6 separate regions of the Homo sapiens genome follow, and regions 1, 2, 4, 5 and 6 are each linked to region 3. The links are contacts of gene promoters, found by promoter capture Hi-C in blood cells and fetal thymus (Javierre and others, 2016). All regions are on one chromosome and are shown on one strand. Each heading gives the region's core, a stretch centred on a gene start or on the middle of the fragment in contact. The rest is flanking DNA. Distances are from core to core; before and after follow the strand shown.

Region 1 (4,531 bases), core at 56-2,555, 3.6 Mb before region 3:
AAATCACAAACTGGTCAGACAGTTTGTTGTGCAGGAAGAATATTTATATTGCCCTATGAATGGGGGATGACAACATAGCTGGCCAGATAATTGACAGACAACAAGGATGAAACCAGAGATGGCAGGTGGGCCACCTTTCATCTTACCAGTCTTCGTCAGGGCTCCGAAGACAATGTGTTGTCATCAGGGCTTGACATGGGAGTCAAGTAATCTCTGGATTATTTGTCTTGCTCAAAATTTTATATATTAAAGAAGATAAAAGGAATTTGTTGGAAGGATAGGGAGTACCTAAGATAATTGAAAGAAAAACTAAGGAAGCAGGTTTTGGAAAAATACAAGCTCTGGAGCAGTAACAGGGAACTCTGTAACCTTGGTTGAATAAACAACTGCTTTTACTCTTTGCATTATTGCTGTCAATTTTCAAATTCCAGGCAAGAAGCAGCTTTAGCTTAGCATGGGTCAGTTGATCATCCCACGGAGCATCCTGATGGACAGTCCCACTTACGCTGGGTGCAAGTGGTGAAGGGCAGTCCCTGGAAGTGAAGTGGGGTGCTGTTAGGAGAAATAAGAAGGAATTCATGCTGGGCAGGCGAAACAACTGTTGTCTACCATAGGACTGCTTGAAGGGTTGTCGCAGTCCATCTATAATTGAAACTTTCTTTTTTCCACGTGGTAGGCAAAATTCTAAGATGACCTGCAAGATTTCTACCCCTGGTGCACAGACCCTGTATGATCCTCTCCCCTGGAGTGTGGATGGAAGCTGAGAATATGATGGCCATCCCTCCTGAAACTTGACGACGAATCATTGACTCTGTGTTCATCAAAGGAGAGATTATCCTGGGGGACCTGACCTAATCAGTTGAGTCCTTTCAAGGTGGAAAAGTCAGAGAGGACTGCTCCTCCTGACCTTGAAGAAGACAAAAGTGGCCAGCTCTACAGCTGCAAGGATTTGAATTCTGCCAATCACCTGAATGAGCTTGGAGAATCGCTCTGGGCATCCGATGAGATGGCAGCTCTGACTGACACCTTGATTTCAGCCTTCTGAGATCTGAGCAGAGACCTGGACACCTGATCCACAGAAACGGAAATATTACATTTGTGTTGTCTTAAGCAGGTGAATTGGTGTTAACTTGCGGCACAACAATTGAAAACTATCACTATTGTTCTGCTACATTTCTGACACATGTGTTAAAGCAATAGTTTTCCAGGAATACAAAACAAAGGGAGACCCCCAGGGAACCAGGACAGAGGGGGCTTACTTAGAGTACAAAGATCAAGATGCAGCAGACATGATTATTTGAGATAAAGGAAGTAATTCCTCAGCTTGCTGCTTTTCCGGGTTTGGGAGAGGTGGGAACAGGAAGAGGGAGGCAACCAGATTTTTTCTGAAGGAGATTTACTAGTATAGACTTTCCTTTCAAATTTAACATGTTGAGTTAATCAAATAGATATTACAACTGTTCGTTATTAATATTTCAAAGGATCTCATTGTTACTGTACCCAATGCAGGTTAAAAATGTTAAAACTTGGGTCTGGGCTGGGCATGGTGGTTCATGCCTGTAATCCCAGCACTTTGGGAGGCCGAGATGGGTGGATCACCTAAGGTCAGGAGCTCGAGACCAGCCTGGCCAGCATGACAAAACCCCATCTTTACTAAAAAGACAAAAATTAGCCGGGCGTGGTCACGGGCACCTGTAATCCCAGCCACTGGGGAGGCTGAGGCAGGAGAATCACTTGAACCGGGGAGGCAGAGGTTGCAGTGAGCTGAGATCGCACCACTGCATTCTAGCCTGGGCAACAGAGTGAGACTCTGCCTCAATAATAATAATAAAAAAAAGGGTCCGAAGAATTTTGTTACTTTTACTTGAGCAGTATTCACCTACCAGAGGATGGCCTGTGTGGCATCTGGGTGTGATACCCAAGACAAAAGTATACAGAGCAGCACTGGGAGATGATTATTACAATGTAGTTAAATTCCAGGAAGAATGTTGCCTAAGAAATGGAAGGGAGCATGTCTATGTCTTTTTAAAACTTTAACATCTTTCTTTTATTCCTGCTGGTTCCAGTTAATATTGCTGTGTAAAAATCCACTTTAAAGGTGCAAAAGAACAACTATTTTATTATGCTGATGGATTCTGCGGGTGAGGAATTCAGAAAGGTCACAATGGGGATGGTTTATGTCTGCTTCCTAATGCCTGGGCCAAACTTTCTGGCACTATATAACAAGGGCCCCATTTTCTCCAGCTTCCAATAACATCTTCCTTAGCTCCCTTTAAGCCCTCATTGGCAGCTTCCTCAAGTCCTTTTAGACTCTTGTTAATACTTTGGATCCCTTCCTGCTCTTGCTGCTTCACCTAGTTCCAAAGCCAGTGCCACACGTTTTACTTTTATGATGTTATTATGTTATGTTTTGTTATAATATCCATCCTACTTCTAGGTAACAAAATCGGTTTCAGTTACTATTGCTATGTAATAAACTGTTATTCTTACTATGTAATAAACTTCTTCCCCTTGCCCCTCCCTAAGAAGTCAGTGGTAGAAGAGAAAGAAAAAAAGCCCCAAGTTACATAATAAAACCACATAGGTTATATTTATAATAATGGTATCAGTGGTTCTCGAACTTTTTGGTTTCAGCATACCTTTATACTCCCCAAAATAGTAGAGAACACTCCAAAGCTTTTGTTTCTGTGGGTTACATCTATTAATATTTACTATATTAAAAATTGAATACAAAGCTGAAATGTGGCTGGGTGCGGTGGCTCACGCCAGTAATCCCAGAACTTTGGGAGGCCAAGGCAGTAGGATCACCTGAGGTCAGGAGTTCGAGACCAGCATGGCAAACATGGTGAAAACCCGTCTCTACTAAAAATACAAAAAATTAGTCGGGTGTGTATCGAGCGCCTGTAATCCCAGCTACTCAGGAGTCTGAGGCAGGAGAATCGCTTGAGCCCGGGAGGCAGAGGTTGCAGTGAGCCGAGATCGTGCCATTGCACTCCAGCCTGGTTGACAGAGTGAAACTCCATCTCCAAAAAAAAAAGAAAAAAACCAACAAAAAACTGAAATGTTAAAAAGTTATTTAAAATAACAATAATAAACCATTATGTGTTAATATAATTAAGACATTTTAATGAAGAATAAATATTTTCCAAAAACAAAAAAATGTGGTAAGAAAAGTGTTATCTTTTGCATTAGTGTAAATTCCTCTATAGCTGGCTTAAAGAAGCCAGTTAGATTCTCATTTCTGCCTTTACATTCAGTTCGACGTGATGTTTTGGTGGAAGTATAAGGAAAATCCATCAGTCATGGGTCATCAAAACCCATGACTGGGTTTCGGTCTTACATCCTAGCCGATAAAAGACCGCCTACACTCCTTCCCCCTGGGCAAGGCTCGTGCCCCAACTCCTACAAGCAATGCAGGCTGAACCTTAGTTTTCCCTACCGTCTAACAGTGCTCTAAGGATTGAAAGAAAGTAACTCTTAAGCGACACCTAGATAAAATGATGGTCAGTTTAATTTCATTTCTCATCACAGTATTAGTCAATCAACCACTCAGATATAATCACATCCTGCGGGCTTATTCAGGGGCGGGGTGGGTAGAGATAAGCAATAGCGCATGCGCAGCTCAGAACGAAGCCCCAGGTGGAGTTAGCGCTGCACCTCTGAGGCCAGGTGAGCCGCTCCGAAGCGGAGGGCGGAGTCAGAGCCGCTTGTGGGAGGCTGCTTCCGACCACGTGGTACCCCGAATGACCAATGGGGAGACTTGATGTCAGCCCCGCTTCCTCACCCTGGCAACGGGCGGGTGACTACTTCCGGTGCAGTGAAGGCTCGGGGCTGAAGCGGGTGAGTGTCCCTCTTTCCCACGCTGTCCGCGCCGCTGCCGCCTCCGCGCTGCTGCCTCTGTGTGTGGGCCCCGTACGCTAGCTGGGACGTCCTCTCCGGGTCCGAGAGGGGGCGGCGCGCAGGACACCCCTTGCCCCGGGCGGGGCTAGAGGAGGGGGCCAGGATGTCCCTAGTTCCCTAGTCTTGGTCGCTCTAGGCGGCCCCGTCGTCCCCCTTCCCAGCCTCATCTCCGGCTTGGCGTCCTCGTGGCCACCGGGGAAGTACTGTCTGTATGTGGGGAGTTCTCGCAGTTCTTCACCCACTTTGCAGTCTCAGGCTGGAGATGTCTCAGAGTCCGAGGTTCGCAGACAGCCGAGAATGTGCGCCTTGTCCTGGGTGGCGGGTTGGGGGTAAGGCAGCCCCTTACTTAGTAATAGAGGCCTGATGAGAGTCCTGCGGGTCGTTAGCACTTACTACTCAGGGGGAGGAGGAGGAGGAAGAAGAGGAGGAGGAAAGGACCGAGAAGATGGAGCAGCTGGAGAGGAGGGGGGGAAAGCAGGAGCTAGAGATGTCCTGGAAATCGAGGGTATCGTGTTTCCGGAAGGAGAGAGTTCAACTTTCCTGGCTTCTGTAGGGGAGGGGAAGGAAAGGTGTGTTAGGGGCCATTAGATTGCTGAATTATTATTATTCTTTATTAGCGAAGGAATTTTTA
Region 2 (4,553 bases), core at 2,054-4,553, 3.7 Mb before region 3:
AGTGAGGTAAGTTAGTCTAGCATCCACTTCATTTGGGGCACTGAATTAATATAACATAGCTATATAATCCTTTAGATTGATTTTACAGACTTTTTTACATATCTTTTCTCATTTAATTTTCTTAGTTACCTTGAGCAATAAGACTGTATCAGCGAACAAGATTAAAGTGACTTATGTAAGGACATGCAGACCTGGAACTGCAACTCAAGTCTTCTGACTCCTTCTACCCCACCACATTGCTTGCAGTAATTTTGTTGGTTCCACAGTCTAGGAAAGGCATTACTCATAAATAAGGATTACACGGCTCCATATATAATCTTCTGTTCATTATCCATTCATCAGTTATTACAGCAATTACTGTGTGCAAGGGCCTTTTTAAGTGCTGTGAAGTAAAGGTGATGTGAGGACTTGCAGTGTGATATTTGTCATCATGAAATGTTCATGCCCAGCACTTGCACTCCTCAGAATCTATTTTACATAAATAATTGGATGTGTGCAAAGAATGTGCATTGCAGCATTATTTTTAAAATAAAACGGTAACTGGCTGGGCACAGTGGCTCACCTTTATAATCCCAGCACTTTGGGAGACCGAGGCGGGTGGATTGCTTGAGGTCAGGAGTTTGAGACCAGCCTAGCCAACATGGCAAAACCCGGTCTCTACTAAAAATACAAAAATTAGCTGGGCATAGTGGTGCACACCTGTAATCCCAGCTACTTGGGAGGCTGAGGCACGAGAATCACTTGAACCCAGGAGGTAGAGGTTGCAGTGAGCCAAGATCGTGCCACTGCACTCCAGCCTGGGCAACAGAGCAAGACCTTGTCTCAAAAAATGAAAATAGAAATTAAAATGGTAACAAATCATTAAGAGATTAATTAAATATATGCAAACATCTGTGATCTATGAAGTTTTAAAAATAGGTTCCAAAATAACGATATGACCAGTTATTTTAAACAAATTAGTATTTAAATTAAAGAAAAGAAATTTAGGGATATGGTTGTATACTAAAATAACCAGTTATCTTTGAATGAAAAATTACTGCTAGTCACCTTTGTTTTATTTATTAACCATATTTTCCTAACTTTTTTTGGTTTGTAATGATCATTCATTATGTTTATAATTGGGGGAAAATGGTAAAGCAGTTTTTTTGGTTTTTTTTTGTTTTTTGTTTGAAGTAGCTGGATAAGTAGTAATGTTTACAGTCACTACTAGAGCAATACTGTCTAGGAATAGAGACATTTATATTTGTGTAACCCCACATTATCTTGCACAAGGCTGTGTACATTGTGGGCTCTAAGCAGATACTTTTTGGGGTTTTTTATTTTTATTTTTGGAGACAGGGTCTCGCTCTGCTGCCCAGGCTGGAGTGCAGTGGTGCAATCACAGCTCACTGCAGCCGCAACTTCCTGGGCCCAGGTGATTCTCCCACCTCAGCCTTCCGAGTCACTGGGACCACAGGTGCACCCCACCATGCCTAGCTAATTTTTGTATTTTTGTAGAGACAAAGAGTTTTGCCATGTTGCCCAGGCTTGTCTCAAACTCCTGGGCTCAAGATCCTCCCATCTTGGCCTCCTAATATGATGGGATTACAGGCGTGAGCAGCTGTGCTCGGCTGCAGATACTTATTGAATGAATAAATACTCTGAATGCAGTTGATATTGTTAAAAACATTGAAATGGAAGACCTCTTTAAGTCTCTTATGCAACACTTTATTATTATATAACCCAAAGTGTGGTATGTGTACCATTGTCATAAGTGAGAAGATTTTTGATGATACTCAAACTTCTAAAATATTAATAGTTATGTACTGTGTCAACATCTTAGAAAACAATGTAATTACCCTATCACTTCTGTGACTTTAGGAATATTGTTTAGAGCAAAACTAACTTTTAAAAAATTCAATTTAATAAAAAAATGATATTCAAAAATCATGAAAATGGTATAATGACTGACAGTTGAGAAATATTGCAATACTAGATAGACTGGGTCTGTAAGATGTTATTTCTAAGCTTGTTGCTTAAAAGTAAATTCTGCTTACCTCATAGTAACTTTCAATGTTGTGTTTTTCAGATCTCATATATAGAACCTGTGACAATGCTTTCATTTTGGCGCTTTTCACTTCTATTGGCTAGTTATTTTTATTAATCCCTGCTTCGTTGTGGTGGTAACATAAAAGCCCATTTCCTGCTTTTCCTTCTAACAAGATGCCTTTTCATTCAGTTAGTCTCAAGTCAAGTTGTATCTTTGTGAAGCCTTTTTATAAATACCTCTCTGCAGGCAAATTTAGATGTCTCTCACTGTATGGTGATTGAGAACATAGATTTATAAATCAGTAAATGGTTACCTTTTATTTATGAATCCATCAAGAGCATGAGATCGTGTTACAAATCTTCTCTCTTTTCCCTTATCCTAGCTCAATTCTTTGTATGTAGTAGATACTCAGTAAATATTTGGTCAGTGAATAACTATTATAAGATTATAGGACCAAGAGAAAATTAGTTCCAATTTCATTCTAAATCTTGAACTTTTAAATTTGCTTTTAATTTTCCAAACTTAGAGCCTGTAAGCAGAAAATAAGCTCCAACTTAAAGATGAGTAAAACACGTAAGATATATCTACACACCAAGTAGATAGAAGCCTGTGATTGCTTTAGAAGTAGGAAATGAGCCCTTTCAGAGTTGTGAGGACTAAAATTTCCATCTTAAGCAAAAACAGTCTTTCAATCTTGGTGTATTGCTAATCATGACAGTTGATTACAAAGTTCAAGACCTGGCAGAAAAAGTATAAATATTATTTCTCTGTCTTTATAGGTGATCTCATCCACATCACAGCTTCTGTTGTCAACTGCGTATGAATGAGTCACTGATCTCCAACCCAGACTTCTCTGAGCTGTACACTCTTATTATTGATACTTTCTTTTAGATGACTGAGTGGCACTTCGTATTCAACATATTCAAAACTGAACTCATGATTTCCCTCCACCAAACAAACTAGTTCATTTCCAGTGTTCCCTTTTCATCTTTCCATCTTCTTAGCTAACTAGCTCTGAAAGCTAAGAAGCTATGACTCATCTTTGACACTTCCAAAACTCCCAGTCCCCGTGTCAAATCTCCAGTCGGTAATTATTGGTTTCACTTCCTGACTGACTCTGAAATCCATGTACATCTCTGCATACATACTGCCACCCAACTTAGTGCTACCTTCATTTCTTGCTTTTTGTACTGTACTACCTTTACTATATTCACATCTGTTCTTTACTTTCCCAAGTCAGTTTTCTACAGTATAGTCAAGGTGATCTCCTCAATATGCAAGTCTGAGGATGACAATATCCAAAAGAAGATGACATCCTCTTTTTTGAAAACAGCAGTGTCTTCCCATTGCTTTTATGAAAAAGTCCAAGCTCTCTATATGGTTTTTTGATAGCTTGGCCTCTACTTAACTCTTCATTTCCATTTGTTACTTGATTCTGTGCTATCTGTGATCTGGACATGATGGTTGGCTTTTTCCTATTGGCAGATTTTTACAGGTACCTTCCTTGCTCTTTCAAACAAATTTCCATCTATTAGTCTAACTTTGACTATTTAACTCCTGTTCATCCTTCAAGTAACAGCTCAGTTATCACTCACTTAGGGACCCCATTAAATCCCCTTAGAAAACATTCTTTCTGGGATATCTTAGTTGTGATTTTAACTTTTCCTATATATTGATTTTATTTGATATCCATGTATTCTTTTCACTCAGCTAGAAGTTTCACTGAGAGCACTGTTTGCTTCTCTTTTACCAACTGTTGTATATTGAGCACTTAGCACGTAGCAGGCACACTGTTAAGTATTGAATGAATGTCTGGATCTACTTGCGTGATGTGAGCATGTGTTAGGATTTCCATTAAATAACTTGGTTAAGTGTATTTTCCTTTACTCTGTTTCATAGAAGTTATGGTTAGGATTTCTATCATAAAAATTGACTAAGCATTTACTGAATATATATTTGTCTTTACTGTGTTTCATAGAAATTATATTTTTACTGGAGTTGATGTCAAGATAATTTGGATTCAGTTTAATTCAGCATATATCTTTTCTTAATTTCTTTCCCCTTTAACATTTTGCAGTGGTTCAACTCATAATGACAAGAGACAGTGATGGTTATGAAAACTCAACAGATGGTGAAATGTGTGACAAAGATGCTCTGGAGGAAGATTCAGAAAGCGTTAGTGAAATAGGAAGTGATGAGGAATCTGAAAATGAAATTACAAGTGTTGGTAGAGCTTCAGGTGATGACGATGGAAGTGAAGATGATGAAGAGGAGGATGAAGATGAAGAGGAGGATGAAGATGAGGATAGTGAGGATGATGATAAAAGTGACAGTGGCCCTGATCTTGCAAGGGGTAAAGGAAATATAGAAACTAGTTCTGAAGATGAAGATGATACGGCAGATTTGTTTCCAGAAGAATCTGGTTTTGAGCATGCTTGGAGAGAATTAGATAAAGATGCTCCTCGTGCTGATGAGGTAACCTTTTGAATAAACAAGATTATTTGTGAAAAACACAGTACAAGCA
Region 3 (4,367 bases), core at 587-3,086:
TCACCCAGGCTGGAGTGTAGTGGCACAATCTCGGCTCACTGCAACCTCCACCTCCTGGGTTCAAGCGATTCTCCTGCCTCAGCCTCCCGAGTAGCTGGGATTACAGGTGCCCACCACCACACCTGGCTAATTTTTGTATTTTTAGTAAAGACAGGGTTTCACCATGTTGGCCAGGCTGATCTTGAACTCTTGACCTCAGGTGATCCACCCGCCTCAGCCTCCCAAAGTGTTGGGACTACAGGCGTGAGCCACCGGGCCAGGCCTCCTTTGCCTTTTAATCTGTTTATAACATGCGGTGGACTAGGGAACCAACTGAGGCTGCCTCAGAGTCATCCACTTGGACTTTGCTGCACGGCTTGGTGACACTCACCTTAGCTGCTATTTATGGCTTGTTTTATTATTATCGGCCATATTCCGATTAGGTGCGGTGTCATCATACTGCATATGTATATGTGTCATCTATGGAATAGGGCAAGATGCTCCTACATAGGTAATGATTAGACTGAATCAATGCCACTTGATTTGTGAAAATAAGGATTTCCCAATCAGGGACTTCAATGTTGCCTCTGTTAGCACCCATCTCTAACGGAGAATTAATTAGCAGCTACAGTGATGAATTCAGTAGGTCCATGGGTCGGTTTCCTGTGGACTGCCTCCCTCCCAGCTAAAGCCCTGAAGTGCTGGGGAGAGGGCAGCACCCTGTATAGTGTCCTTCACAATCAACTGCTAAGACTGACCAAGAGCTCACCCCACTGCAGGAAATCACACAAGTGTAGCCCTTGGGTCCTGGGTTCCTTGTAAATTGAGCAGCATATAGGATCCTCCACATACAAGCACACCTGTACTTTTCCCCAGCATGACCCTGGGCCACCTTAGTCACATCTAACCATCTACCAAGGTAGTGGAATAGAGCAGAATGTCTTGACTTGAGGTCCATGTTCGGGGTCTGAATACTCGGAAATTACATGAAAATCTGTGGGAATCTGTGTGTGTTCAGGTCATTTAACTCTCAAAGGGGGGCTGTGCGACAAGGAAGGATCATTAGAAAGAGGAATGGAGGAAGACAAGCTTGGTACAGTGGAATGTAGGGTTTGAGGTGGGGAAATCCGTTGTGATCCTCCCTTCCCTGTATCATTATTTACACAAACTAGTTGGATATAAATATGGATATGCTACCTACCTAGTTTTTACCTCAGTTTCTGCATCTGTGAACTGGCAATAGCAATGGTGCCCACTTCATGGGACTGTGTGAAAAGGAAATGAGATATGATCCTTGTAAAACATTTAGCAAAGTCCTTCAATATAGGCTCCTTATGAATACACCAAACTTTTGCGGGTTTCAGCTCACCCACAAGTGTAAGCGATAGTTTACATGTTGGGGGTTCTCTACTGTGCTTTCCACTTTTTAGTCTCCAGAAAAATCTGGAGAAGAGAGGAGTGGAGGGGGTAGAGATGTAACGTCAAAGGAAAAGCCATGTGTCATGCTCACCTCTTAGTCTTCCGGGCGATCAGAAGCCAGGGATCTCTGGGCACCTATGTGCCTGGGCCTGCTGGGGCGACCGGGGAGGCCCCTGCTCTCGTCCTCTGACGCTCAGCGCTGGCCCAGCCGCGACCTTGGGCTCCCGGAGCCCGGCGGAGGCGCCCAGGCGTGAATGATGTCCCTTGGGTAGGGCTGGTGAGCTGGCGCGCGGGACAGCAGGGCTGGGTGTATGTGTCCATGGGCCCCGGGTCCCCGGAAGGCGAGCGCGCGGGCAGGTGAGCGCAGGGGGCGGGGTGGAAGCCGGAGGGACCGGGCTGATTGTGAGCTTCCGCCACGCAGGGCGCGGCTGCCGGGGCAACCGCAGCGTGCGCGGTGGGGCGGTGCTCGCCTCCGCCTCCGCCTCCGCCTCCGCCTCCGCCTCCGCCTCCGCCTCCGCCTCCGCCCCCGCCCCCGCCTCCGCCTCCGCCCCTCGCGCCTGGCTTCGACGCCAGGTGGCCGGCCTGGGCGGGATGGGGTAGCTGCGCTGGGTGTTCCAGGGCGGAGCGCAGAATGCTGCTGTCTTGAGGATTCCGCCCTTCTCTCATTCTCTTCTCCCACCTCCTGCCCTGGGTCAGAACGTAATTTAGTTATAAAATTAAAGCTGCATATGGCAATTAAAAAATGAAGTAAAATATACAATAAATATTTAGTTTACAAAGTACAATTAAATGAAAAATACAATAAATTACACAATAAAGCGAAAGTGAACCTACTCTCAACTGCCACAGATTCTTGCAAATCTTCCCAGAAATTTTCTTTCCATACTCTAGGATGCATATATGCTTAAAAAATATTTATACACAAATGGAAGCAAATATGGAGATCACTTTATTTCAGGGCCTACAAATGCACCATAACACCCCTCTCTCTCCCTCCACACATGCTTTTTGGCGGAAAATTCTGAAAGCTTTGGTTTGATTATGTGAATGTAAAACATATATATGTGTGTCTATATATATATGCTTTTTAATGCAGTATGTAATTGCTTCCAATTAAAAACAGTAATTCCTTACACCAGCCTACCCTATTCTACTCAGAGACTGTTTAAAAATGTTAAGAGCGAAGACATGGAATCAACCTAAGTGCTCATCAATGATAGACTGGCTAAAGATAATGCGGTACATATACACCATGGAATACTATGCAACCATATAAAGGAACAAAATTATGTCTTTTGCAGGAATATGGAGCTGGAGGCAATTATCCTTGGCAAGCTAACGCAGAAACAGAAAACCCAATACTGCATGTTCTCACTTATGAGTGAGAGCTAAGTGATGAGAACACATGGACACATAGAGGGGAACAGCACACACTGGGGCCTATTGGAGGGTAGAAGGTGGAGAGTGGGAGGAGGGAGAGGATCAAGAGAAATAACTAATGGGTACTAATCTTAATACCTGGGTGAGAAAATAATTTGTGCAACAAAACCACATGACACAAGTTTACCTATATAACAAATCTGCACATGTACCCCTGAACTTAAACGTCAAATAAAAAATAATAAAAATGTTATTAAGGACTATTTCATGCACACCAAAATATACTGTATGATATATGGAAAGTACATACCATACCATACCATAGCTAAAGAAATACCATAGCTAAAGAAAAAGAAAGCTAGGAAAAATAAAGGAAAAAGGAAAAGGAAAAAAAAGTCTGCCTCTACTGCTGTACTTATATGTATTTCTTCCCAACACTGCATCCTCCTCTTCCTGTTCCCAGAGATAATACCTGTTCTGAATTTTACATTTATCATCCCAGCCTCTTAAAAATGCATTGCTACATTGAATGCCTCCCTAAATAATGCATGTTTAATATTGCATATTTTGAGAATTTATAAAAATGTGGTAGAATGTTGTGTATTGTTTTGATGACTTTTTTCCTTTCAACGTCTTGTTTTTGAAATGTATCTTTGTTGGTATGTTTAATTGGAGTTCCTTTATCTAAACAGCTGTAGGCTATTCCATTATATTACCATTCCACACCCCTTTCAAATCAATTCCACTATTGATAGACATTTGGGATGTTTCCAGAATTTGCTACTAAAAGCAATACTACTAAGATCATGTTTATAAATGTCTTTGGACGCACACGTTCAAGAGTTTCACTAGAGTATATGTCTAGGAGTTAAATTTCTGGGTCATAGGTTATTTATAACATCAAGATAAAGACAACTTGTTTTCCCGACATATACAGCAATTTAGACTCCCATCAGCAGTGTGTATCTTAGCCAAAACTTGGTTTTGTCACACAAAAAACTTTCTGCCAATCTTGGTATCAATGCTCTTTTATAATTTACTTTACGTGACCTGATTACTAATTATTAATCTGTAAGTTTGATTCCTTAGAGATATTTGAGTGTAAATTTATTGTCAAACTGTGTCCAAAATTGGTGGGTTCTTGGTCTCACTGACTTCAAGAATGAAGCCAGGGACCCTCGCGGTGAGTGTTACAGCTCTTAATGTGGCGCATCTGGAGTTTGTTCCTTCTGATGTTCGGATGTGTTCGGAGTTTCTTCCTTCTGGTGGGTTCGTGGTCTCGCTGGCTCAGGAGTGAAGCTGCAGACCTTCACGGTGAGTGTTACAGCTCTTAAGGCGGCGCTTCTGGAGTTGTTGGTTCCTCCTGGTGGGCTCGTGGTCTCGCTGGCTTCAGGAGTGAAGCTGCAGACCTTCGCAGTGAGTGTTACAGCTCATAAAAGCAGTGTGGACCCCAAGAGTGAGCAGCAGCAAGATTTATTGCAAACAGTGAAAGAACAAACCTTCCACAGTGTGGAAGGGAACCCAAGCGGGTTGCCACTGCTGGCTCAGGCAGCCTGCTTTTATGCTCTTATCTGGCCCCACCCACATCC
Region 4 (4,370 bases), core at 166-2,665, 3.2 Mb before region 3:
TCTCACAGCAGCATTCGATAGAAGTCCTCTCTCCTTAAGGCATTCTTCTCCCCTGGCTTCTGTGACACACCTCTTGGTTCTCCTTTTACCACTTTCATCATGACACCTCACTCTCAGCTCCCTGTCCACTTCACAGCCTCCCTGCTATTATCTTCACTTACATGTCCCAGAGGCATCTCATATTCCACATGTCCCATATAAATCCACTGACATGAACTCTACCCTTGTGAAACTGGAAGCTGTCTTTGACTCTTCACTTCTTAACTCTGAAATGCAATCCAACAGCATATCCTGTTGGCTCTGTCTCAGAACTGTGCCTTGCATCCATCCACTCTTCTCTACCCTGGTCCACATCCCATCACCTCTTACCTGAATTATTGTGAAATTTTCTAACATATCTATGTTCTTCCCTCTCATTATCCACTGATCAGATGGAGCCATCATTTAGAAGCTCTTCAATGGCTGCTTCCTCACCAATCCTAGAACAGCCATATTCTTTATCATGACCTGCAAAATCCTTGCTTTTTTCTGCAAGTTCATGTGCCACTTTCTTCCTTACACACTGTTCTCCAGTCTCTTTTCCATCCCTTAGTCATGCCAAAGTCCTTCCTATCTCAAGGCTTTGGTGTTTGTGATTCCGTCTGCCTGACTGGCTCTCCTGAGTTCTTTGCAGAGCTGGTCCTTTTATTCCCCCAGCTCAGGACTCAAGTGTCACTTTTCCATCAAGTCCTTCCTTGACCACCCTCTTTTAGTAGGAACTCCCAGTTATTCCCTATCTTTTGCTCCCTGTTTATGTCCTGCTAAGCACCTATCACAATCTATAATAATTCCTTTATTCTGAATCAATTATTGTCAGTTTTCTTTCTAGAACATAAGCTTGTTCTCTATTGAATCTCCAGTGCCTAGCACAATATCTGCTGATCACAGCCACGCGATATGAAAGTGCTGAATGAATGAATGGAATTGTAGAATGCCATGTGGCTGGGCAGTGCTCAATGCTTATATGTACATTATTTCATTTGCCTTACTGCAGTTTGGTTGTATATTAAATAAAAGAGACAATTCATGTCCATTTAATTACCTTTCTGCTCCTGTAACAACCTAAGAGCAACCACCATGTAGCAGGATCCCAGCACTTTAGATGTACACTTACTCTAATTCTCTTTAGCTAAGTGGGGCTATAAAAACTTTTACAGATGTTCAGAAATGGGGGATTGTGTGGCTTCATGAAAGATGACTTGCTTTGGAGTCTGGTACTGGCTGTAGGATAAATGAATGGTATGGTCTTAGCCAAATCTTTTAATTTCTCCAGGTTTTAGATTCTTTGTCAATGAAATGAGACATTGGGGCTTGGCTTTCTTGCCTACAACAACATTCTAGAATTTGGTGAGTGTCTGCAACCTGCCTTCTAAACAGAGTGCCTCACCATGGAGTGCAGGTGGGTTGGAGCACAGATGAAGCCCCGGTCCAACCTGGGCATTCCTGCAGCCATGTGCAGTGACCCTTGTGTATGTGAGTACCTGTCATGTGCCCACGTATCCTGGTGGCACAAAAGGTACTTCATGTAGATTGTCAGGACCAAGACACAGAACGTTCTTGGGGCACACCACAATAATTCCCCCACTAGCATTCACCTTAAGATGAAAGAAGTAAGTAAAACCCTTCTCAGATCTCAGGGAGGACCCTGCAGATGGATCCCTGAAAACTTAAGGCCAAGGCCATTCATGCCCATTATTGGGTTCGTCCAGACCTTAGCATTAATCCTGGCCTTGGTGAATAAGAAGTGAAAGAACCATTGTGGGGCATGAGAGAACCACACCAGACAGAGTTTCAGGGCAATGAGTCCCTGGGGAGAACCTGGAACAGAACTTCGAATACCTAGTCTGCCACAGATTTTTTCCTGAGAACTTGCCTTTCATTATTTCTATTTAATACCTGCTGTTCAATGTTTAGATTCACTCTCTTTGTGATCCCAATGCCTCTTCAAATGTTTCCAGTTTTTTTCTAGTTGATGTGGATTCCCCAGATTTATCTCATTTCATGATGTCTTCGGAATTGCATGTTGTGCCACCATCACACTTCACACTCTCAGTAAGGAGCTCTCAGTTGTCTCACCTGGTTCGTGTCTTCCTGAATGTACCAGTGAGGGGAGCAGAGAGGGAAGGATGCACTGAGTTGTTAGCCTTTTTCCAGCAAAGTATGGAGAGCTGAACCTTTTCAGGAGTAATGGGTTAAACAGAAGTGGATGACTTGCCCACTCTTTAGAACGTTGTATCCTCTATGGGCTGATCAACTGCTATCATGAGTGAACCTGAAAGGATTATTCTGGATTGGTCAGTTTTCAGGAGGCTGGTCATTTTGATCGTAGATGTGACTTTCTCCACCACCTGGGTCAGACTCCATGTGAAGCCAAAAACATCCTGTATATTATAAATAATTTTACTTTTTTCCTTCTTGGAAAGTTAATAACATTCTTCATTTTCTGATAGGCATAAAAACAACTTTGTTGTTTTCTAGTTGAGTTCTAGTATCTGGAAATGCTAATAAGTCTGTGAGATTTTCACACTGGAATTATGTGGAGTGATGTCCATGTGGGTATTGGGGAACTATGTATAATCGATCCAGGAGTTTAATTTGGCCCCAACCCTTAAAAAAATGTTTACCCTACTGAAGGGCAGCTCCAAATAAGTTAATGAGTAATGGGCTATGAATTTTGCCATTTTGCCTGATTTTAGTGAGGTGGCCCTCTGGTTTGAAGTAGATTGCCTCTCATTAATGACCTTCTCAAGAACTTTCAGAGCCTAGGGAGAGGGCTAGAGCATAAAAATATAATTCAAATTAGTCCCCAAAAGTCACCATGTCCAGTAGAAGTCTCTCAGGCCCATGGCTGGACTTCTGGGAATGTTTGGGCAATGTAACCACAGTGATGTTTATTAAATGGAATGTCCACCTCACAGTGCTCTCAAAAGTATTCTTTTTTTTAAATTTTAAGTTATTGCTCCTCTTTATTGTAAACGATGTCCTATAAAGAAGATATATGTCTACAATTGAGCTTTGAAGGAGGACCATGGAGCCAGTTCCTTTTAAGGGGAATGAAGTCAAGCAGTAAATTTGCTGGTCACTCTTTTCATATGGACCGCATCTCAGCCAGCAGTTGGTCTTTGATGTTGTAACAATGGCACTGGGACCTGAGGCAGAGGAGCACCCCCATAATACTGAAACCAGCCTGCATTCATTCTAATTTGGAGAACAATCTGTGGGATAGTACGCACATCAGGGAGCCCAGAGAGTGAACTCCAGGGCTGTGGGTAATCTTTCCCAGTGAAAATCAGCCATCTCTTCTACACCATGTACCCTGCCTGCTGCATTCTTTACTCTTTTATTAAAATTGAAGTATGATATTCCTACAGAAATATACACATATATAACTCTACAACTCAATGAGATTTCACAAACTGAAGACACCTAGGCAACCAATGCCTAGATCAAGAGGCAAAACATTACCAGCACCCTAGCTGCCCTCCTTGGACTCCCTTTTCATCACTTCCCTGACAAAGGTAACTCTCTTCCAACAGCACAGGTTCCTTTTTCCTGGTTTTGAACTTTACCTAAACAGAATTATCCAGCATGTACTTTACTGTGCCTGGTTTCCTTCACTCAACATTACATTTGTGAAATTGTGCATGTTGCATATAGTTGTCATTTGTTCATTCCCACTGTGTACACTTAACTACCTTATTATCCATTCTGTTGATGGCATTGGGGTTGTTTCAAGGTTGGGGCCATTTTAAACAGTGCTGCTATGAACATTATTTTTTAGGTCTTTGAGTGCATTAGTGAATAGATTTCTGTTGGGCACATACTCAGGTGGAATTGCTGGGCCAAGGGCATGTTGATATGTTGGCTGTGTCCCCATTCAAATCTCAATTGAATTGTATCTCCCAGAATTCTCATGTGTTGTGGGAGGGACTTCATGTGTGCTGCAGGGGCAGGGTCCTCATGAAGAACCTCTTCTAGGGCAGTGCAGAAGGGAAATGTGGGACCGGAGCCCCCACACAGAGTCCCTACTTGGGCACTGCCTAGTGGAGCTGTGAGAAGAGGGCCACTGTCCTCCAGATCCCAGAATGGTAGATCTACCGACAGCTTGCACCATGTGCCTGGAAAAGCTGCAGACACTCAATGCCAGCCCCTGAAAGCAGCTGGAGGGAGGCTGTACCCTGCAAAGCCCCGGGGGCAGAGCTGCCCAAGACCATGGGAACCCACCTCTTGCATCAGTGTCACCTTGATGTGAGACCTGGAGTCAAAGAAGATCATTTTGGAGCTTTAAAATTTAACTGCCCTGCTGGATTTCAGACTTGCCTGGGCCCTGT
Region 5 (4,611 bases), core at 636-3,135, 3.2 Mb before region 3:
AAATGAGAAAATCACCACAATCAGAGGTGCTCCCAGGGTCTCCACCCCTGAAAGCAGCTGCCAGGCTTGTGGGACACCTGGATCGCCAGCAACATTCCACTTCCCTATGCTCCAACACACACAAAACCTATGAAGACTGGGGTTCACCTGTAGCTCTTTTCACTTCATGCTAAAAGCCCCTAGCTGTACAGAGAATGCAAGAGACCACCAAATAGGTGAGTTTCTGAGGAGGTCAAGAAACTATTCCAGAGGGAGTGCTATTCTTCCCCAGAACAAGGCTGGAGCGGTGGTGAAATAGGACCGGCTTCTTGGAAGCATTCCTGATGATTCTCCCTGACATGCCAGACTCCTTTACTGCATTTCTGTGTGATATTAAAACATAATGACCTGCTCCTCCAGTGACCTCTTCTGCAAATAGCCAACCCTTATAGTTCCTATCTGCATTGAAAAGAGACCCCTTTATTGCATTTGCTTTGTTGTTATTATTTCCGTGCAAATTCTGGAAAGCAAAATAGAATCTCAGGCACATGTTATAACTGGGGGAGAAAAGTGCATCATAATTACAAGGTTATGTAATTTCCAGGCAAAAAAGAGAACAAACTATTTGGTCAGAATTAAATCTTGGGGTCTACATGTTGGGAAGGGCCCACAGAGTTCATTTAGCTTCCTTTACAGTTGAGGCAACAGGCCCAGAGAATTAAATAGACATTCTCAATATTGCACAGGGACTTGGTAGCAGCATCAGGACAAGAGCCCAGGTTTCCTAACTTCCAAGACCAACGTGCTTTGTATTTCTCAAAGTAAACTTTCAAAAATTAAAGTATGCTGTACATATAGAAAACAGCATGTATCCTGGGTGCATATCCAAATGGAATTTTTGCTACTCCGATCAAGAAACAGAATGTTACCAGTACCCCAGAAGCCAATTACCTGAAAGTTACCAATATTCTGACTTCTCTCACCATACATTTGATTTGCCTTTGAAAATTAATATAATTGAATTTTACAGTATATACTCTTTTGTGTCTGGCTCCTTGCGCCATCCTCTATTACTTTTTGCTTTAAAATAAATGGAAAGCTATAGAAAAGTTGCAAGCATAATTGAATGAACATCTGTAGTTCCTTGTGGTAGACTGTTTAAAATGACCACAGTTTTCTCACCATTGTCTCCAGGCTTTTTACAAGCTGGCTTTGTACCCGTGGAATCCTTGTGATTTACTTTCACTAGCAAAACGCAGCAGAGGTGATGTTGTACCAGTTCTGTGGTTAGGTTTCAATAAGCTTTACATGCCTCCTTTCTCTCTCAATCTCTCTCTCTGTCTCTGTCTTTCTGTCTCTCTCTCTCTCTCTCTCTCTCTCTGTGTGTGTGTGTGTGTGTGTGTGTGTGTGTGTGTGTGTGTGTGCCTGTCTCTGTATTGGAACTTTCCCACTGCTATGTTGGTAATCCAGGACTAGCCTGCTGGAGTGATCCTAGTCACCACTGTTGCCCCAGCTGACACCTGCCTATTCTCAGAAGCAGAGCCACCTAGTAGACCTACAGTTCATCGCAGACACATAAGAGAGCTTAAGAGAACACAGCTGAAACCAGAGAAAGCACCCAGGTAAGCTGAGCCTAAATAGAATAAGGGGCAAAATAAATGGTTGCTCTTGTGAATAGGGTAGTTCATCACACAGAGAAACCTGCTAAATACAACCTTTCACCTCAAATACTACAGTAGGTATTTCTTAAGAGTAAGGAGATCCTCCTACATCATCACAGCATAATTCTCAGGACGTTTAACATCAACACAATAATATGATCTAACTTATAAACCACATTCAAATGGTTCAAATTGTCCCTATAATATTCTTTACAGCGACTCTTTTCTGTCCAGGATTCAGGTGAGAATCACTCTGCATTTTATTGTCATTGTCATGTCTGTTTATCACCTTCGGTCTTCAACAGTCCACATCTCCCAGTCCTCCTTTTTCTTTTGGTCTTTTGTGCCATTAACATTCTTTGAAAGCCTAGGTCAGCTGATTTTGCAGAATGCCCTTCAGTTTGTATTTGTATGTTTGTTTCTCTAGGATTAATTTCGGATTATGTGTTTGGGCTAGGGATACTGCCTGGATAATGTTATGTTCTTCTCAGTGCATCACATCAGGGAGTCCCTGATGAGATTTTTCCCAATTGTGGGTAAATCTATTTCAAGATACGGAGATGCTAAGTCATTTTTGTGAGGTTAAATGGGAAAAATTCTTGATTGAGAATATGTTGGTGTGTTGGCTATCTTTTTCTTATGTGTGGAGAAAGGGGAAACATGAGTTCATCTAATTTCCTGGGAATTTACTTCACTTTGTTCCAAGTTGTTTGTCAACATCATCCAACTCCCTCAGGGCAGTGGGCTGTGACCATATTAGAGGAGGGCTGTCCTCAGGGTGAACTCTATGAATCAGTAATTTTGTCTGCTGCAATCAAAAGTCATTATCAATCCATTCTTAAAAGCTTAGCCTTAAATTCTTTTTTTTGTTCACTTTGTTTTGGGGAGCAAGTCAGGCTTGGTGTAAGACAAAGGAGAAATAAATTTGTTGTTAATGAAAATTGTTTTTAGTGATTTAAAAATAATAAATACCTTAGCTTTATGTTGCATTTTTTAAAAAGCACAAGGAATATAATTATACCCTAGGGAAGTCAAAAGAGCTCAGTGAAATAAAGAAAAAATCCAACAGGCTAGAAGTTTTAACTCTTTTTTTTTAATAACTAAAGAGTAGTTGAAATAATCTTTCAACAACTTCAGTTCAGATTATATCTGAAAGAAAGCTAAAACTGATTAATTTGCATTTAGAAGTGGAATTTAATCCAGCCATTCCTCAGCAGAGAAAGATCAAACTGACACCTCTAAGATGCCACATCAGAGATGTCTCCACTTAAAATAGCTTTGCGACTGGCTGGTTCTAACGTCTTTACTAATAAACACAAGATCTCATCATCAATGCTTGTGGCGAGGATTTCACAATGACTCAGGGTGTAGTGCCTCATTTGTGAGCCAGATGTGTCTAAACTGAAATCTGAAGATTCTCACTTGTAAACTCTAAACAGGATGATGAAAGTTAAATGAGAAATAGCTTTGTAGAGGAATAAGCATGAAAGAGCTGTTTACACGTTTTGGAATGCAAATTTAGCGTGGTTGTTATTTTATAAAGGTTGAGATTTTCCTTTATTTACCTGGGGTCTAACTTGATTCTGAAATTGTAGTTTAGTAAATAACCATCAACTTTTATCCATAATAAGTGATAAACAAAAAGTAGTGTTTTGGAATAAAGGTTTTATTTGTCGGGGCCATGAAAGCCAAATAATTAAAACTTTAAAGGGATGTTTTGGTTACTCACAAAGATTGAAAGATATACTGTTCTCACACTTTTGTGTGTGTGTGTGTTTCTGTGAGTTAACAACGTGATGGTAATATCAGGCATGGTAATATTGAAAAACCAGTTATACTTGTAGTAGTCAGGGAAAGTAACATTGGTTGCTATAACAAACAATCCCTCCAAAGCCCAATGGCTTAGCATAATAAAAGTTTGCTTTTTGTTTATGCTGCAATACTCTTCATACTTTGGTATCCAAAGGGCAGTCTTCCTTTGATGAGGGGACCCAGGCTCCTAATTAGTGGCTGTACATTTTGTAGAACATTCATATAGCACACAAGTGAAGAGAGAAAAAGTATATGGAGGCTCAGCATGCTTTAAGGGCCAGATCACTTGCCATTGACCAGAACTTAGTTACACCGACCCCACCCAACTGCAAGAACAGTTGGGAAATAAAGAATTCCTATAATGCTTAGGAGGCAAAGGAAATGGGTATGTTGAATGCACAATGCTGTTTCCACATAGAATTATCTCTGCCAAAAACCCCACTCCATTTCATTAGTATGAATGAAGATCGTAGTGTCATAGGGGGACTAGAGTGAGGGTCAGCAATTTCTTTCCTATTAAGCACTGGATAGTAACCATTTTCAACTTCGTGCCACAAGAAGAAAAAATCAAGGGCGTTACTTATGTACTTATATAACCATTTAAAATATGACCATATAAAAATGTAAAAACCATTCTTTGCTCATGGAACTTACAAAAAGAAACTGTGGGTAGGATTTGGCCTGTTTACTTGACATACTATTTTATTTAACCTGAGCAATATATAAAATCCTGTCTCTTACCATAGTGCCAATGAGTCAGGATTGGTATGGTCAGGCCAAGCCAACAGCCTCCTATGTGGCTCTCTCATTATGATTATTATCTAATTGTACAATATCTAGGAAAAGTAACTATTCTAAAACAGAGAGAGAAAGAAGAGTAGGGATAACGGTAACATCTGAGTGCTTAACTGAGATAACAGAAGTACTGAGTGAATTGAATAATGGTATAATTTCAATTTTGCCTATTTTACTAATCCCTAGACTAGAGAAATCCTAGAAGGAAATGTTTAGTGCTGCAGGATTGCCTTGTTCTCAGACTCCTTCCTAAAATGACTTTGATTTTGGTTGAGACTTTCAGATGACCATTTATGGCAAATTAAATTTGAAAATAGAGTCTTAATTGAGGTTATGATGATTATGCAGAATAAAACAAGTTATA
Region 6 (3,997 bases), core at 835-3,334, 3.8 Mb before region 3:
CCCCAAGTCCATAGTTTACATTAAGGTTCACTTTTGGTGTTGTATATTCTAAGGGTTTGGATAAACGTGTAATGTCATATATCCAATATTATAATAGTATCATAGAGTAGCTTTACTGCCCTAAAAATCCTCTGTGCTCCACCTATTCATCCTTCCCCTACACAACCCCTGGCAATCACCAATCTTTTTCACTGTCTCCAGAGTTTGCTTTTTCCAGATTGTCACAGTTGGAATTACACACTATGTAGCCTTTTCAGATTAGCTTCTGTCATTCAGTAATACGCATTTAAGTTTCCTCCAAATATTTTAATGGCTTGACAGTTTCTTTTTAGTGCTGAATAATATTCTGTTGTTTGGATACAACAAAGTTTATCCATTCACCTACTGAAGGACATCTTGGCTGCTTCCAAATTTTGGCAATTATGAATAAGGCTACTATAAACATTTGTGTGCAGGTTTTTGCGTGGACGTAAGTTTTCATCTCCTTTGGGTAAACACCAAGGAGCATGCAATCGCTGGATCGTACGCTAAGAGTATGTTTAGTTTTGTAGGAAACAACCAACCTATCTTGCAAAGTGCCTGTACCATTTCGCATTCCCACCAATAATGAACTCCACATCCTTGTCGCATTTAGTGTTGTCAGTGTCCTGGATTTTGGCCATTCTAGTAGGTGTGTGGTACATCCATTTTTTAAGGTGATAAAAACAAACAAAAACCAGAGCTGTATACACTGAAACTTAATCTCTTAAATTTTTTCCTTTTTTGAGACAGAGTCTTGCTGTTGCCCAGGCTGGAGTGCAGTGGCGCGATCTTGGCTCACTGCAACCTCTGCCTCCCAGGTTCAAGTAATTCTCATGCCTCAGCCTCTCGAGCAGCTGGAATTACAGGCATGCGCCATGACATGCAGCTAATTTTTGTATTTTTAGTAAAGACAGGGTTTCACCACGTAGCCCAGGTTGGTCTTGAACTCCTGGCCTCAAGTGATCTGCCTGCCTCGGCCTCCCAAAGGGCTGGGATTATAGGCGTGAGCCACCGTGCCCGGGCCTTGAATTTTCTTTTGACCCTACTCTCACCTAGAGTGTAGTCATGCGTGACAGCGAAAGTCATATTCCCAGTCTCCTTAGAGTACGGTCACACTTTTCTGGTATAACTGCCTCCCCTTATGCTGAGTTCCAGGACAGAACTGAATGTCCATTTCAAACCATACTGTGTTAAGCTCATGTTTATCTTTCCTAATGCTTTTCGACAAGTATTAGATACTTTAAAAACTAAGGAGCTCATACTATAAACTCTATCATACTTATGGGAAAACAGAAAGCAACAGAATTAGTCACCTGCAAATAGCAAGCAGATGAGCTAACATAAAAACTCAGGTTCTGACTCCCTGCCCAGGGTTCTTTATAGACCAAGGCTCTGCATATTTTTCATTTCATGACAGAATGTGAGTAGTTTTCTAACTTTGTTCAGCACATCTAAAAAACCAGGGAAGGAATTACACACTCACGAAAGAAAACATCAAGGGTGACCAGCTTTCCCAGAACATAAGACTTTCAGGCCAAAAGTGGCAAAGTCCTGGGCACACCTTGATGACTGGTCACCCTAAAAACAGCTATCGAAAGAGTTGAACTGGACGTGGAGAGCCTGCTGAACTTCTGAAAGAAAATCTATTTGACTATAAGACAGGAGAAAGAAGATACCACAAAGATATTTTTTCTGTTAGACTGAGTTATTTGAGGACAGGATCCCTAATTCATTTTTGTATTCACCCAAAAATCTGGCTCAGTGCCTTGTATCCTATAACCTATTTGATATATACTTGCATTACATGTTTGTGTAACATATGTGGAGGAAGATAGTAGAAAACATAAAGGGAAAAGAGTAATCTTGAGAACTACATTCTGGTACAGAATTATTATTATTTTGAGACAGGGTCTTGCTTTGTCACCCACGCTAGAGTGCAGTGGCATGATCATGGCTCACTGCAGCCTCAACTTACCAGGCTCAAGTGATCCTCCTGCCTCAGCCTCCCAAGTAGCTGGGACTACAGGCATGCGCCACCTTGCCCAGCTAATTTTTTAATTTTTTGTAGAGATGGCATTTCATTATGTTGCCCAGGCTGGTCTCGAACTCCTGGGTTCAAGCAGTCCTGTTACTGCAGCCTCCCAAAGTGTTGGGATTGCTGGTGAGAGCCACTGTACCTGGCCAGAAGAATTAAGGCTAAAGGAAAACTAGCTGTCCTAGTTTGAGTTTGTCCAGAATGAGTTTGTCCAGAATTTGTCCAGAATGAGTTATGATTGTTGGGAGCAGGAGTTTGAAAGAATATATTCTATGCTCTCTGGTGGAGATAATATGATATAGTGCCTCAACTTTTTTTTCCCCCAACTTGCTAAACTCATCTGTGATAGAAGGGTTTTCTCCCCAATGTAACTTATTATTTTGGAATTGCTCTAACATTTGAATACAGGAGCCAATATGCTCTTTCAAACTCCTGCTCCCAACAAGAGCAATTCCAAAATATTAAGATGCACTGGGGAGAAAAACCTTCTATCACAGATGAACTTTAGGAAGTTCATGCATGCCACCACGCCCAGCTACCTTTTTTGTATTTTTAGTAAAGACAGGGTTTCAACATGTTGGCAAGGCTGGTTTCAAACTCCTGACCTCAAGAGATTCACTCGCCTCGGCCTCCCAAAGTGCTAGCATTACAGGCGTGAGCCACCGCTCCTGGCCTCATAGCAAAACTTTATGGCAAGAATGATCTGTTTATAACATATGGTTTTTAAAAAGTGGATTACCAACCTTAAACTGCTAACCACCAGGTCAAATGTATTTTCTTTGAAGGGAAGGAATTCTTCATCAGCTAAAACGCTGACAGTAGGTATTTCTGTTTCTGAGGAATTTTTCTAATGTTAAGAAAACGAAAGATCAAAATCACATTTATGTAGAATCTCAATTACTAACACAATCACTGTTTGTTAAATTGAAGTCAATGTTATATTTACTTGGCAGTTTCTACCCCCCTTCCCAAAGGTGGCACAGAGAAGGCACCCAAAAAGCATTTCTTAAATGACTTAACATCAGCCAGAAAAAATGGCTAACTAGTTGAAACAACATAAACAGGATACCAACCTCACACCAAAACAAATCTCAGAAAGCTAGTTTGGCTGGGCGTGGTGGCTCACGCCTATAATCCCTGCACTTTGGGATGCCAAGGTGGGCAGTCACTGAAAGTCAGGAGTTCGAGACCAGCCTGGCCAACATGGTGAAACCACGTCTCTACTAAAAATACAAAAATTAGCTGGACGTGGTGGCACGCACCTGTAATCTCAGCTACTCGGGAGGCTGAGGCAGGAGTATCGCTTGAACCCGGGAGGCGGAGGTTGCAGTGAGCTGAGATCGCACCACTGCACTCCAGCCTGGACAACAGTGCAAGACTGTCTCAGAAAAAAAAAAAGAAAAAAGAAGGCTGAAAGTTTTAGTGAAACAACCGAAGTACTAGATGAAAATATGGGTGGACTGGACATTTTACCCTTAGATGAAAAAGCCTAGGTAAACATAATTCAAAAGCCAGAAACTGTAAAGGAAAAGACTGATATATTTGATGATAAACTAATTAAAAACTTCTATTAATAGAAATCAATAAACAATGTAAACAACTGAGGAAAATATTTACAACATATACAATGAAGGATTAATATCCCTAAAAACCAAGCTCTTACAAATCACCTAGAATAAAAACACAAGATAGCTAAAGAGGACAAGGTGCAGGCATATCACAAAATTATTTACAAAATTCACAAGAAATACCAATAGTCAAAAGATATCAGCAGCTGTCAGACTGACCCAGACGAAAAGGCTGGCCCAGTGTTGCCAAAGCAAAGTAGTAAAAAGTACCTTTGTCATTGTTCAGTCTTTCTAAGGGCAGTCTGAAGATGTATGTCAAAAAATTTTTAAATGAACATCAAAATGAATCCATAAATTCCGCTACCAGGAATTT

The links. Contacts are between HindIII fragments. The CHiCAGO score rates a contact against its expected background, and 5 or more counts as called.
Region 1: a contact is called between a fragment that was not itself captured here and the fragment with the promoter of ANKEF1 in region 3, in 6 of 17 cell types (non-activated CD4 T cells, naive CD8 T cells, total CD4 T cells and 3 more). The highest score is 19.4, in non-activated CD4 T cells.
Region 2: a fragment that was not itself captured here is called in contact with the fragment with the promoter of ANKEF1 in region 3 in 6 of 17 cell types (non-activated CD4 T cells, total CD8 T cells, naive CD4 T cells and 3 more); the score reaches 8.7 in non-activated CD4 T cells.
Region 4: a contact is called between the fragment with the promoter of ISM1-AS1 here and the fragment with the promoter of ANKEF1 in region 3, in 4 of 17 cell types (non-activated CD4 T cells, total CD4 T cells, naive CD8 T cells and 1 more). The highest score is 21.9, in non-activated CD4 T cells.
Region 5: a fragment that was not itself captured here is called in contact with the fragment with the promoter of ANKEF1 in region 3 in 1 of 17 cell types (non-activated CD4 T cells); the score reaches 6.2 in non-activated CD4 T cells.
Region 6: a contact is called between a fragment that was not itself captured here and the fragment with the promoter of ANKEF1 in region 3, in 1 of 17 cell types (non-activated CD4 T cells). The highest score is 6.3, in non-activated CD4 T cells.

Annotation. Positions count from the first base shown.
Region 1 is chr20:13,638,203-13,642,733 of GRCh38, reverse strand. TASP1 (taspase 1) reads left to right here and starts at 3,802. Exons shown (of 14, transcript NM_017714.3): 1 at 3,802-3,840. RefSeq lists a silencer at 3,902-4,051 and enhancers at 4,242-4,331, 3,945-4,445. The HindIII fragment of the contact is 2,746 bases long and covers 1-2,678 here.
Region 2 is chr20:13,775,824-13,780,376 of GRCh38, reverse strand. It overlaps ESF1 (ESF1 nucleolar pre-rRNA processing protein), which reads left to right. Exons shown (of 14, transcript NM_001276380.2): 3 at 4,107-4,504. Among named protein-coding and RNA genes, the nearest start is that of ESF1, 6.8 kb to the left of the region's middle. The HindIII fragment of the contact is 2,588 bases long and covers 2,010-4,553 here.
Region 3 is chr20:10,032,456-10,036,822 of GRCh38, reverse strand. ANKEF1 (ankyrin repeat and EF-hand domain containing 1) reads right to left here and starts at 1,836. Exons shown (of 11, transcript NM_022096.6): 1 at 1,490-1,836; 2 at 1,181-1,244. All of the region lies in intron 3 of SNAP25-AS1 (SNAP25 antisense RNA 1), which reads left to right. RefSeq lists a silencer at 1,496-2,045. The HindIII fragment of the contact is 1,358 bases long and covers 1,071-2,428 here.
Region 4 is chr20:13,236,732-13,241,101 of GRCh38, reverse strand. ISM1-AS1 (ISM1 antisense RNA 1) reads left to right here and starts at 1,415. Exons shown (of 3, transcript NR_040043.1): 1 at 1,415-1,649; 2 at 1,998-2,118; 3 at 2,993-3,682. The region is part of intron 1 of ISM1 (isthmin 1); the gene reads right to left. It also overlaps a transcript of TASP1 not described here. The HindIII fragment of the contact is 6,320 bases long and covers 879-4,370 here.
Region 5 is chr20:13,211,312-13,215,922 of GRCh38, reverse strand. It overlaps a transcript of TASP1 not described here. Among named protein-coding and RNA genes, the nearest start is that of ISM1, 7.7 kb to the left of the region's middle. The HindIII fragment of the contact is 1,204 bases long and covers 1,284-2,487 here.
Region 6 is chr20:13,793,744-13,797,740 of GRCh38, reverse strand. NDUFAF5 (NADH:ubiquinone oxidoreductase complex assembly factor 5) reads right to left here. Exons shown (of 11, transcript NM_024120.5): 5 at 2,800-2,903. Among named protein-coding and RNA genes, the nearest start is that of NDUFAF5, 11 kb to the right of the region's middle. The HindIII fragment of the contact is 6,147 bases long and covers 1-3,997 here.